Regions from separate parts of the Homo sapiens genome. Here regions 2 and 3 are each linked to region 1. The links are contacts of gene promoters, found by promoter capture Hi-C in human tissues and cell types (Jung and others, 2019). All regions are on one chromosome and are shown on one strand. The core of a region is centred on a gene start or on the middle of the fragment in contact, and the rest is flanking DNA. Distances in the headings are between cores, read along the strand shown. Region 1 holds the start of TRIM55 (tripartite motif containing 55). Region 2 overlaps LOC102724687 (a long non-coding RNA gene). Region 3 overlaps LOC102724687 (a long non-coding RNA gene).

Evidence for each region. The method cuts DNA at HindIII sites, captures the fragments that hold promoters and counts their contacts. A contact is called where the count stands out against the background at its distance.
Region 2: a contact is called between a fragment that was not itself captured here and the fragment with the promoter of TRIM55 in region 1, in 5 of the 25 tissues and cell types used here (H1 embryonic stem cells, bladder, lymphoblastoid cells and 2 more).
Region 3: a contact is called between a fragment that was not itself captured here and the fragment with the promoter of TRIM55 in region 1, in 1 of the 25 tissues and cell types used here (H1 embryonic stem cells).

The regions. Positions count from the first base shown.
Region 1 is chr8:66,125,547-66,128,726 of GRCh38, reverse strand. It overlaps TRIM55 (tripartite motif containing 55), which reads right to left and starts at 1,598. Exons shown (of 10, transcript NM_184085.2): 1 at 1,291-1,598; 2 at 251-423. The coding sequence starts at 1,458. RefSeq lists a silencer at 1,780-2,052. The HindIII fragment of the contact is 11,068 bases long and covers 1-3,180 here.
Region 2 is chr8:66,300,375-66,303,554 of GRCh38, reverse strand. The region is part of intron 1 of LOC102724687 (a long non-coding RNA gene); the gene reads left to right. Among named protein-coding and RNA genes, the nearest start is that of LINC00967, 110 kb to the right of the region's middle. The HindIII fragment of the contact is 6,401 bases long and covers 1-3,180 here.
Region 3 is chr8:66,277,541-66,280,720 of GRCh38, reverse strand. All of the region lies in intron 1 of LOC102724687 (a long non-coding RNA gene), which reads left to right. Among named protein-coding and RNA genes, the nearest start is that of LINC00967, 87 kb to the right of the region's middle. The HindIII fragment of the contact is 5,569 bases long and covers 1-3,180 here.

The sequences.
Region 1 (3,180 bases), core at 349-2,848:
CATCTGGAATGGATTGGTGTTAATGAGTCACTTCATTCTTAAATTGATACAAAAGCATGGGCACCAACTCCCCTCTCTCCTGCTGTGAGCAACTCTCAGTCTCACTGGGAAGGACTGACTTGGAAAACCATTTTTCCATAAAACAGTCTGTGATTGATAAACAAGCATTCAGCGTAGCAACCCATTAAAACAAACAAACAAAAACAAGTTTCAGATGGGCTTGACACATGGAAGAGTGGAAGAGTGTTACCTGGTGGACTCCTGCTTGTAGATGTCAATGATATTTTCCACCAGCAGGTTCCTCTGAAGTCCATATACCCCATGTCTATCCAAAACCACTTCATGTCTACAGGATGGGCAGCGGAATCGGCCCCCTGATGCCATGGTGGTACCTCCTCTTGTGGGCAAATACGGGTTAGAGGCCTGTTCTTGCCAAGTAAGAAAAAAGGAATTGGGTAATGCCACAAGCAGCTTCTCTGAGACTTATTTTCACTCTCTGCTACTACAAACAACATGAACTTCTACTTTAAGCTTGCCATAAGATCATCCCTCAGGGCTTTCTCAGCAAGTGGTCCTGAAACACAGGGTCAGACCTTATCCACAGTCATCTGCGAATATACCATTGTCCACGTAAGGTGCTTTTCCGTCCACCACTTTCAGAACCAAAAGTTCCAGCCAGAAACTCCACACTCATGTCTTCAGCAGTTACTCATTTATAGTTTTGAAACACATTAAATGGTTTGACTTAAAAAAAAATATGATTCTTAGTATTAAAATAAAACTAGATTTGGGAGTAAAGAGGACACAAACCAAATCATTAAAAGAAACGTGTTTTTCTTGAAAGTAAATGCAACTTTATAAAGTTTTTTTGTTTGTTTGTTTTTCTTTTTTTGAGACAGAGTCTTGCTCTGTTGCCCAGGCCGGAGGGCAATGGCACGATCTCCGCTCGCTGCAATGTCCGCCTCCTGGGTTCAAGCAATTCTCCTGCCTCAGCCTCCCAAGTACCTGAGATTATAGGTGCCCGCCACCATGCCCAGCTAATTTTTTTTTTTTTGTATTTTTAGTGGAGATGGGGTTTTGCCATGTTGGCCAGCCTGGTCTCGAAGGCCTGACCTCAGGTGATCCACTGGCCTCAGCCTCCCAAAGTGCTGGGACTACAGGCGTGAGCCAAAGCGCCCGGCAACCTTATAAAGTTTTTTAAAGGATTTCACCTCAATGTTAAGCACTTGATTCCAAGAGGAGGGAATCTTTTCCACCCCCTCCCCTCAACCAAATTCCAAACAAACCTACCTGGAAAATATCACTGGCACATTTCCTACACAGGTTGTGCTGACAAGGGAGAATCACCACAGGTTTCGTGAACATCTCTAAGCAGATGGGACAGATGAGTTGCTTCTCTAAGTTATCCATGGTCTGCTGCTCTTTGGAAAAAGATTTGTAATTCAGAGATGCGCTCATCTCCTCGCTGTCCCCAAGTGTGCTGCCAGGGAAGGGTGCTGCGAGTGGCTCCAGCAAGTGTTTCCTGGATATTATTCCAGGGATTGTGTGATCAAGTGTCCTTTACGTTTCTCTCGGTGGAGGACATTGTTTCAGGCCCTGGTTTGGAGTGGGTGCTGGAGCTGTTTTTAGCAGCCTGCGGTCACGTGACGGTGGGCTGACGTGTCCATATAAGCCAGTGACAGGAGGATGGATCCTGACAGGTGACGGAGAGCAGGAGTCAACATTCTTGCCCCAGGGAGTGAAGAGAGTGGGTGGGAAGGAGGATTACAAACCCCATTTAGACGGGGTTGTGAGGAGAAGGAGGTCGAAGCTGACAGTTGTCAACAACAAATGCAAATGTGCATGCCTAGCCACTGAACCATGCCCTCTGTGAGCACTCACTGAGAACTTGGCGATGGCTTCTCCAGGAAGGGGCAGAACGCAGCACAGAGTCTGTGTAACTAATGCCAGCCCTGTCTTGAGAGTGTAGGAATTGAGTCACGGAAAGTAGCCTAATAGCACCTTCTTAGGTGAAAATGAACAAAACATGTCTCGAAAATTGTTATCCTGGCTTCACAAAGGCAATCATCAAAAAGACTTTCTTAATGTTAAGTATTTCATCTTTGTCAGCTGGGGTTGTGGTCTTTGAAAAATTCCAATTTAAAAGCTAAATTCAAATCCCTTCACCATAAAGGTATCCACCTAATAAATAAATAAATACATGCATAAATAAAAATTCAAAACCAGTGGATGATCTAATTATTTGAGAAAAAAGTTACATTATAAAACAACTCTAGTATGCTGTTTGCTCTTCCACATTGCTTTCCTCTTCCTTGGCCCTCTTTCATCCTATACTGCCCCACCTCCTACATACACCCAAAAACACAAAGAAAATTTGATAGTCTTTTACTGATTATTTAAATTCTTAAATTATATAATAGTTTGCAACAATAATCTGTAATGAGGTAGTAACTGGCAGGCACCTGGAGGTGGCAGATCTATTATTTTATTTTGTCATCCCTTGGGGGACAGTTACCAGTGCCATTGACAACTGAAGTATAAATGGAGTCCTACTTCCATATCTGCATTTCATCTGCCTCCAAAATACCTATTCTCCCTTGCATTTCCCCTTCCTCCAAGGTGACTTGTTAAACCATAGTTTCTCTGGTCATTTCTGATATTCTTGGTCTGCTCTTGAGTCATAAACATCGATTCTGACATTCATCAGGATTTTGTGAAGCAACAGTTTAACCAATACATATTGTATTTAAAAATGTTTAAATCAGATCAAAAATAAAAAAGAAATCCAAGTCTGTTTATATGTGATAAATTTCGGCTTTCTTTCTCCTTCATTTTAAAAACCTTGGGCAATAAACACATTTTGTTAACATATCCCTGGTGTGAATTAAATTACCAGTGAAGTGTAGGTCAGTTATGTGTGGTCTTAGTGCTGTGTGCACGGAGAGCTTATTGAGAATCTAGTAAGCTCTATTAACTAATAATAAGTTATATATATTCATAAGCATATCAGGGATCTTTAGAGAATTATCTTAGTCCTTTCAATATTTATTTAGCAACTACAGGGAGGACGGGAACTGGTAAAGTTTTTTTACTGAGTTACTTTGGTTCACCCAGCCTAGGCAGTTAATTGTGTTTATCAATTCATGGGCTATGGAGGGGAGGTCTGAGTACAATATGTGG
Region 2 (3,180 bases), core at 471-2,970, 170 kb before region 1:
ATTACATTTCACTTTAAAAATGCTAATCACGGCACACTAAATTGATATGCATCCCACTAATCATTTGTCTTGATCCATTTTATGCTGCTGTAACAGAATATCACTGACTGGTATGCTGTGGTATTCCACAGGAAAAAAAAATACATGGCTTATGGTTCTGGAGGCTGGGAAGTCCAAGATCGAGGGGCTACATCTGGTGAGGGCCTTTATACTGTGTCGTAACATGGCAGAAGACATCACATGGTGAGAGAGTGTGTCAGCTGACAAAAGGGGGCCAAACTCACTTTTTAAACAAACCCACTCCTGCAATAATGACATTAATCCATAATCATCCTATTTATTTGGATATTTTGATTCTCCTTCCACAAATGAAGAAAATAAGGATCAAAGAAGTTGCATGGTTCATCAATAGTTACAAAGGTAACTAGTGGGATAATTGGGACTTGAACCAGGACTGTTTGACTGTAGCTTCAGGACAAGGTGCTTTTGGTCCTAATGAGATTCCCACCCACAAACCTCTCCTATAAAGCAGTTCTGGAATCTGAATTCCTTTTTCATTTCCCTTCATAAAGTCCAAGCCCTCTCTTTGCTATATATGTGTGGAGGCTAAAACAATTCCATCTTGGATGCTAACCCACCATGTTGACTCCTAATTGACCCTGTTCTGGGAAGCCCTCTAAGATTTCCAGTTTATCTATTGTCCCTTGTGTAAGAGCATGTACTTGCCACGAATCCTGTCCTTAAGTCTAAACAACCTTGAGATTATCATACTTCAGTTGTCTGACACATCCCTTCTGAATCATGTACACCCTTTCCCTGTGGTATATAAGCTCTGTGTCTGGAAGGTATAATGGCACTGGAATCCATCCTCTTGCTGGGTGCAGTGGCTCACGCCCATAATCCTAACACCTTGAGAGGCCGAGGCAGGGGTATCACCTGAGGTCAGGAGTTGGAGATCAGCCTGACCAATATGGTGAAACCCTGTCTCTGCTAAAAATACAAAATTAGCTGGGCGTAGTGGCACATGCCTGTAATCCCAGCTACTTGGGAGGCTGAGGCAGGAGAATCGCTTGAACCCGGGAGGTGGAGGTTGCAGTGAGCTGATATCATGACATTGCACTCCAGGCCTGGGCAACAAGAGCGAAACTCAGTCTCAAAAAAAAACAACAACAACAAAAAAACCCACCCTCTTGTCTTGCGGCTGCTGAAGACACAGACAAGGCTTCTGTTTATAAGTCCTTATTAAAAGTTTCTTTTGGAGAAACTGGACTTGTCAGCTTCTTTCTTCAGCCTCTCAGCTTCCTTGGACTTTGTGGGTAGGTTTGCATATGTCTGTCTTCCGTGGACAGTGTGCCATTGAAATAAAGATTTAATGTCGCAAACTTCCTTGTCTTGTACAGGTATGTCTGGTGGCTGTCCTCAGCCCCAGGGACTGAGGTATAGATAACAGTATATATAACTTCATCTTAATCCTCACAAGCGTTTCTAAGCAACATTTTGACTGATGCAAGAGCTGACATTGCAGAAGCAGCTGTTCATTCTGTTGTCTCCAATGACATGGGACAGTCTTCCTCCTTAATTAGGAACAGGATGTATGTATGATTTATATCCCCAAGCAATGCCTGTCTAACAGGTGAAGTCTCAATAGTCAATATTTGAAATATTCCTTTATAAAGCCTAAAGTTAATACAACAGAATGTGAACGGCAAAATTGCAGACACACCAGTCCGTGGTAAAACTCCTTATTTTTCTGTATCTTCACTATGTATGAAGTAAATGTGGCAATACATATAGAGGCCTAGGACTATAGAATTTTAAAGCTTCAATTTGTTTCATTTTGGGGTTAATGACCTTGTGCTTGGAGGAAATTTTGAAATGGGTTGGGGGTAGTTTTATTACTGCACAGGACATGAATTATGCATAAATAAGTGGAAAGGATACTAGAATTATTTCAAAGAATAGAAACTTGGTCATTTAAAACACATTACATTTTTTCTAATTATACAATGAATATTTATTATAGATAATTTTGAAACAAAAAATGTGTAAAGAAAAAAACCTACTCTTAATACCCCAAATCAAGTACGTTAACATTTTTGGTATATTTCCTTCCAGTCTTTTTTCAACATGTTGCTACATAAACATGTGCTCATGTTTACAAAATTGGGATCAAATGAATTATGCTGAAATTGAAAATATAGTTTTATATTCTTTGCTTTTTTGTTACTTATGATTGTATCAAGAAATTTCCTCATTCCACTAAATATTCTTTGAAAATGTATATTTTTAAATTTATTCCTTTCTTGGGACATTCTGGTTTGTTTTTAGAATTAAGAGTATGATTAAATATTCCTATGTTTTTATATGCCAAATTGTGAAATCCCTGCATACAAGCAAAGTGATGCAAAAACGAGGAAAACTTATTGAAGACATAGTAGTTTATGTAAAATTGACTTAACATTAACATTACCTGTTGACAATGCTTTAGCATTAACCTCCCTGTACGGTGCTTTACTCATCTGTAAGATGGAGGTGACACACTGTTTTTTTTTGTTTTTTTTTTTGTTTTTTTTAAGATGGAGTCTCGCTCTGTTGCCAGGCTGGAGTGCAGTGGCACCATCTCGGCTCACTGCAACCTCTACCTCCTGAGTTCAAGCGATTCTCCTGCCTCAGCTTCCCGAGTAGCTGAGATTACAGGTGTGCACCACCACACCCAGCTAATTTTTGTATTATTAGTAGAGACAGGGTTTCAGCCTCTTGGTCAGGATGGTCTTGATCTCCTGATCTCATGATCTGCCCACCTCGGCCTCCCAATGTGCTGGGGTTACAGGTGTGACAACATAGGTAATTGTTTACTTGTATTTGGTTTACACAGTACACTCCTCCAAACACCCTCCTTTCTGTGCTCCAATTGGAATGCTACCCATGTCCCAGCAGTGATCGATGTAGCTGATGGTGCTGATCAATTGAATAATTGTTGTCAACTTCAGAAGAAATGCCTTTTATTAATGCCATTGCTTGACTAATAGATTTCCCTTTAAATGCCAAGTATCCATAATAAAATGTTTCAATAAGACTTTGTTAGTTACCATTTTTTAAAAAAGGTTATTTCATAAAGAAAGGAGTTTGAAAGGATACTCCTACCATTTCCTGTATTACCATTCACTTCTTAGTGAAGCA
Region 3 (3,180 bases), core at 492-2,991, 150 kb before region 1:
CTCCTTGATCTTGAACGTCCCAATGCCCAGATCTGTGAGCAATAAATTTCTGTGATTTATACATTACTCAGTCTAAGGTATGTTGTTAGAGCAGCAGGAAAGAACTAAGACAGAAATAAGAGCGTCCACACAGATGTGCCAGTTATTGAAGAACAGCTGTGACCTACACTTCCAAATTAATCTTCAGCATTTTTACCACAGCTGGGTAGAAAGATAGTGGTTTTAATTTCAAAACTTGCTTTGAACAGGCCAGATGCTACAGTCAGAAACCCAGCACTGAGCAATGTCCTGACTGGTCCAGCCACAACAGGGACGTGAGCCAGCCCCGAGTGGGCCTTTGACTTGCAGCAGAGAGAATATGAGAAAGTAATGGGTGAGTGGCGGCCCTGCAACTGCTCTGCATGTTGGGACAGAAGCAAGCTGCACATTTTAGCAACAGCTTTGAGTTTCTGCTATTGTTCCCCTTCAAGGGCTCTCATCTAGAAGAATGGGTCCATGGGGTGCTGAGAAAGATCAGGGAGAAAAACAACTAGAAAAAAAAAATTCTCTTCATCTTGGCAGCCATTCATGATCACAACTTGAAAGATGACATTCAGGACAATGGTTTGGAGCTCCTGAAAAGCCATCCTGTGGGCCCCCATCTTTGCTGAAGTTTCCAGCTGTCGGGACCAGGTTGGCATGAGACAAATGGACTAAATTTGCCAGCTCACCTAGTTGTCCTTGAGGCCGGAGTCTGGACAGAGGTCACTCAAGCCTGCTGACCATGTGTTCACCTGTACTCCTGTGGTGATGGCGGGTAATGGAGCCAGCACCACCGTTGGCAAGATCCATCACTGTCTGCGTTCATTCATTGGAACATGTTTGATGCCCACAATGTACCCACCTGAGTAGGATCTGAGAGAAGCCTCCATTTCTTCTCTCAGAGTCACAGGCAAGTGGGGAGCACAGACAAGTGGGCTTCATAATGTGGTGTGATGAGGACCAGGCAGGACACCAGAGAGGTGCAGGGGAAGGACACTCAGCCCAGCCCGGCCTAGGGGTGATGCTCAAATTATGGCTTTTAGGACCATTATGAGTGGAACAGTGTTCCCTGCAAGAAAGATATGTGGGAATCCTCAGCCCCAGTACCTCAGAATGTGCCATTATTTGGAATTAGGTCCTTTACAGGGGTAATCAAGTTAAAATGAGGTCATTAGAATGGGCTCCAACCCAGTATGACTAGTGTCCTTATAAAAAAGGGAAGGTTCGGGCCGGGCGTGGTGGCTCACGCCTGTAATTCCAGCACTTTGGGAGGCCAAGGCGGCCAGATCGCGAGGTCAGGAGATCGAGACCATCCTGGCTAACACAGTGAAACCCCATCTCTACTAAAAAAATACAAAAAAATTAGCCAGGCGCGGTGGCAGGCGCCTGTAGTCCCAGCTACTTGGGAGGCTGAGGCAGGAGAATGGCGGGAACCCGGGAGAGGGAGCTTGCAGTGAGCCGAGATCGCGCCACTGCACTACAGCCTGGGAGACAGAGCGAGACTCCATCTCAAAAAAAAAAAAAAAAGGGAAGGTTTGGGCACAGGAACAGCCGCGCACACAGGGGGAGTGCCATGTGATGATTGGAGTTATGCCGCCACAAGCCAGGGACCCACCAGAGTCTGGGAGAGAGGCCCTCACACCTTCGGAGGGAGCATAGCCCTGGCGAGCATCTTGATTTCAGACTTCTGGTCTCCAGAACTGAGACCATACATTTCTGTTGCTTTAATACACCCAATTTGAGGTATGTTGTTAGGAAGGAACTAGGAAACGAATACAAGAACTCAGGGGCTATCCAGGTGGAGAAAGAGGGCTGGACACTCCCAGCCCCGGTGTGGAGACGGGGACCCTGGCGCACTTGTTGGCATAACTGAGAAACAGGAACAGGCATGTGGGGCCACCATAGTAGTTGAGGCTGAAGGGGCTGGAGCGGGAGGGGGCCCCTTTCCTTCTGCTATGGTTTAAATGTTTGTGTCTTCTCCAAAATTCCTGTTGAAACTTAATTCCCAATGCAATAGTGTTGCAAGGTGAGGCCTTTAGGAGGTGAGTAGGCCATGGGGGCTTGGCCCTTATGAATGGATTAGTGCCTTATAAAAGGGCTTGAAGGGGCAACTTCATCCCTCCTGTCCCGTCTGCTGTGTGAGGACACAGTGCTCCTCCCCTCTGGAGGATGCAGCAACAAGACACCAACTTGCAAGCAGAGAGCAGCCCTCCCCAGACACACATGGAATCTGCCAGTGCCCAGGTCCTGGGCTTTCCAGCCTCCAGAACTGTGAGAAATAAAAAGTTTATGTTCTTTATAAGTTACCCAATCTCAGGTATTTTGTTTTTGCTGCAGGAAATGATTAGGATACTCTTTCTCTACCCCTGGATGACCCCTGAGTCAGGTATTAGTTTCCTAGTTGCTGCTGTAACAAAGGCTGGAGAGGAGGGTATTGCTTAATCATGAAGACCTCGGCCTGATGCCATACTAAGGAGTGTGGGTTTTATCCTAAGAGCAATGCGAGTACAAAGGAACATCAACACAGCCCACTTGCCCCCTTGGCAGCCTAGCAGAGACTGCTGCAAGGGGAGGAGCTCAGGGAGGGAGGCACCAATGTTCTGCACAGGCTAGCACGCGACCCAGCCTGGGCTCAAGGAGGTCTGATCTCACATGGGTCTGATCTGCTGTGAATGGTGCAGGAGGCTTAATTTCACCCGTCTCCCCATGCCTCAGTTTCCTCCCTTCCGTCCCAGCCACAGAAACCACTGAATCAGATTGCAGAGGGATTTGGCCACACAGGAAAATGCTTTGACCTCTCTGAAGGAGAAGCGCCTCACAACTGTACATTTCATTATATTATCAGTGTTATTAATAAACTCTTCCCTGCTGGAAAGCCTGCTGTATTGTTTTCAACTCTCTGCTGGGAGGTCATGCTCAGTATTTGATTTCTCTCCATTCATACCTCCCCTTTTCCCAAACTGTCTCTTTTTTAAGACTCGATTTCAGGCCCACATTACCTTAGGACCAGTTTTCCCTTTGTGTTTTTCTGTCACCTCCTTTTAAAGTGACTCTTGTGGCACTTAATATGGTTTGATTGAAGAACACACTCTCTTTCCTCTGAGCCTGAGCTGGTCTCCTGGAGTCTCTCCCAGCAGCTGCTGGCTGCATTCAGGAAGG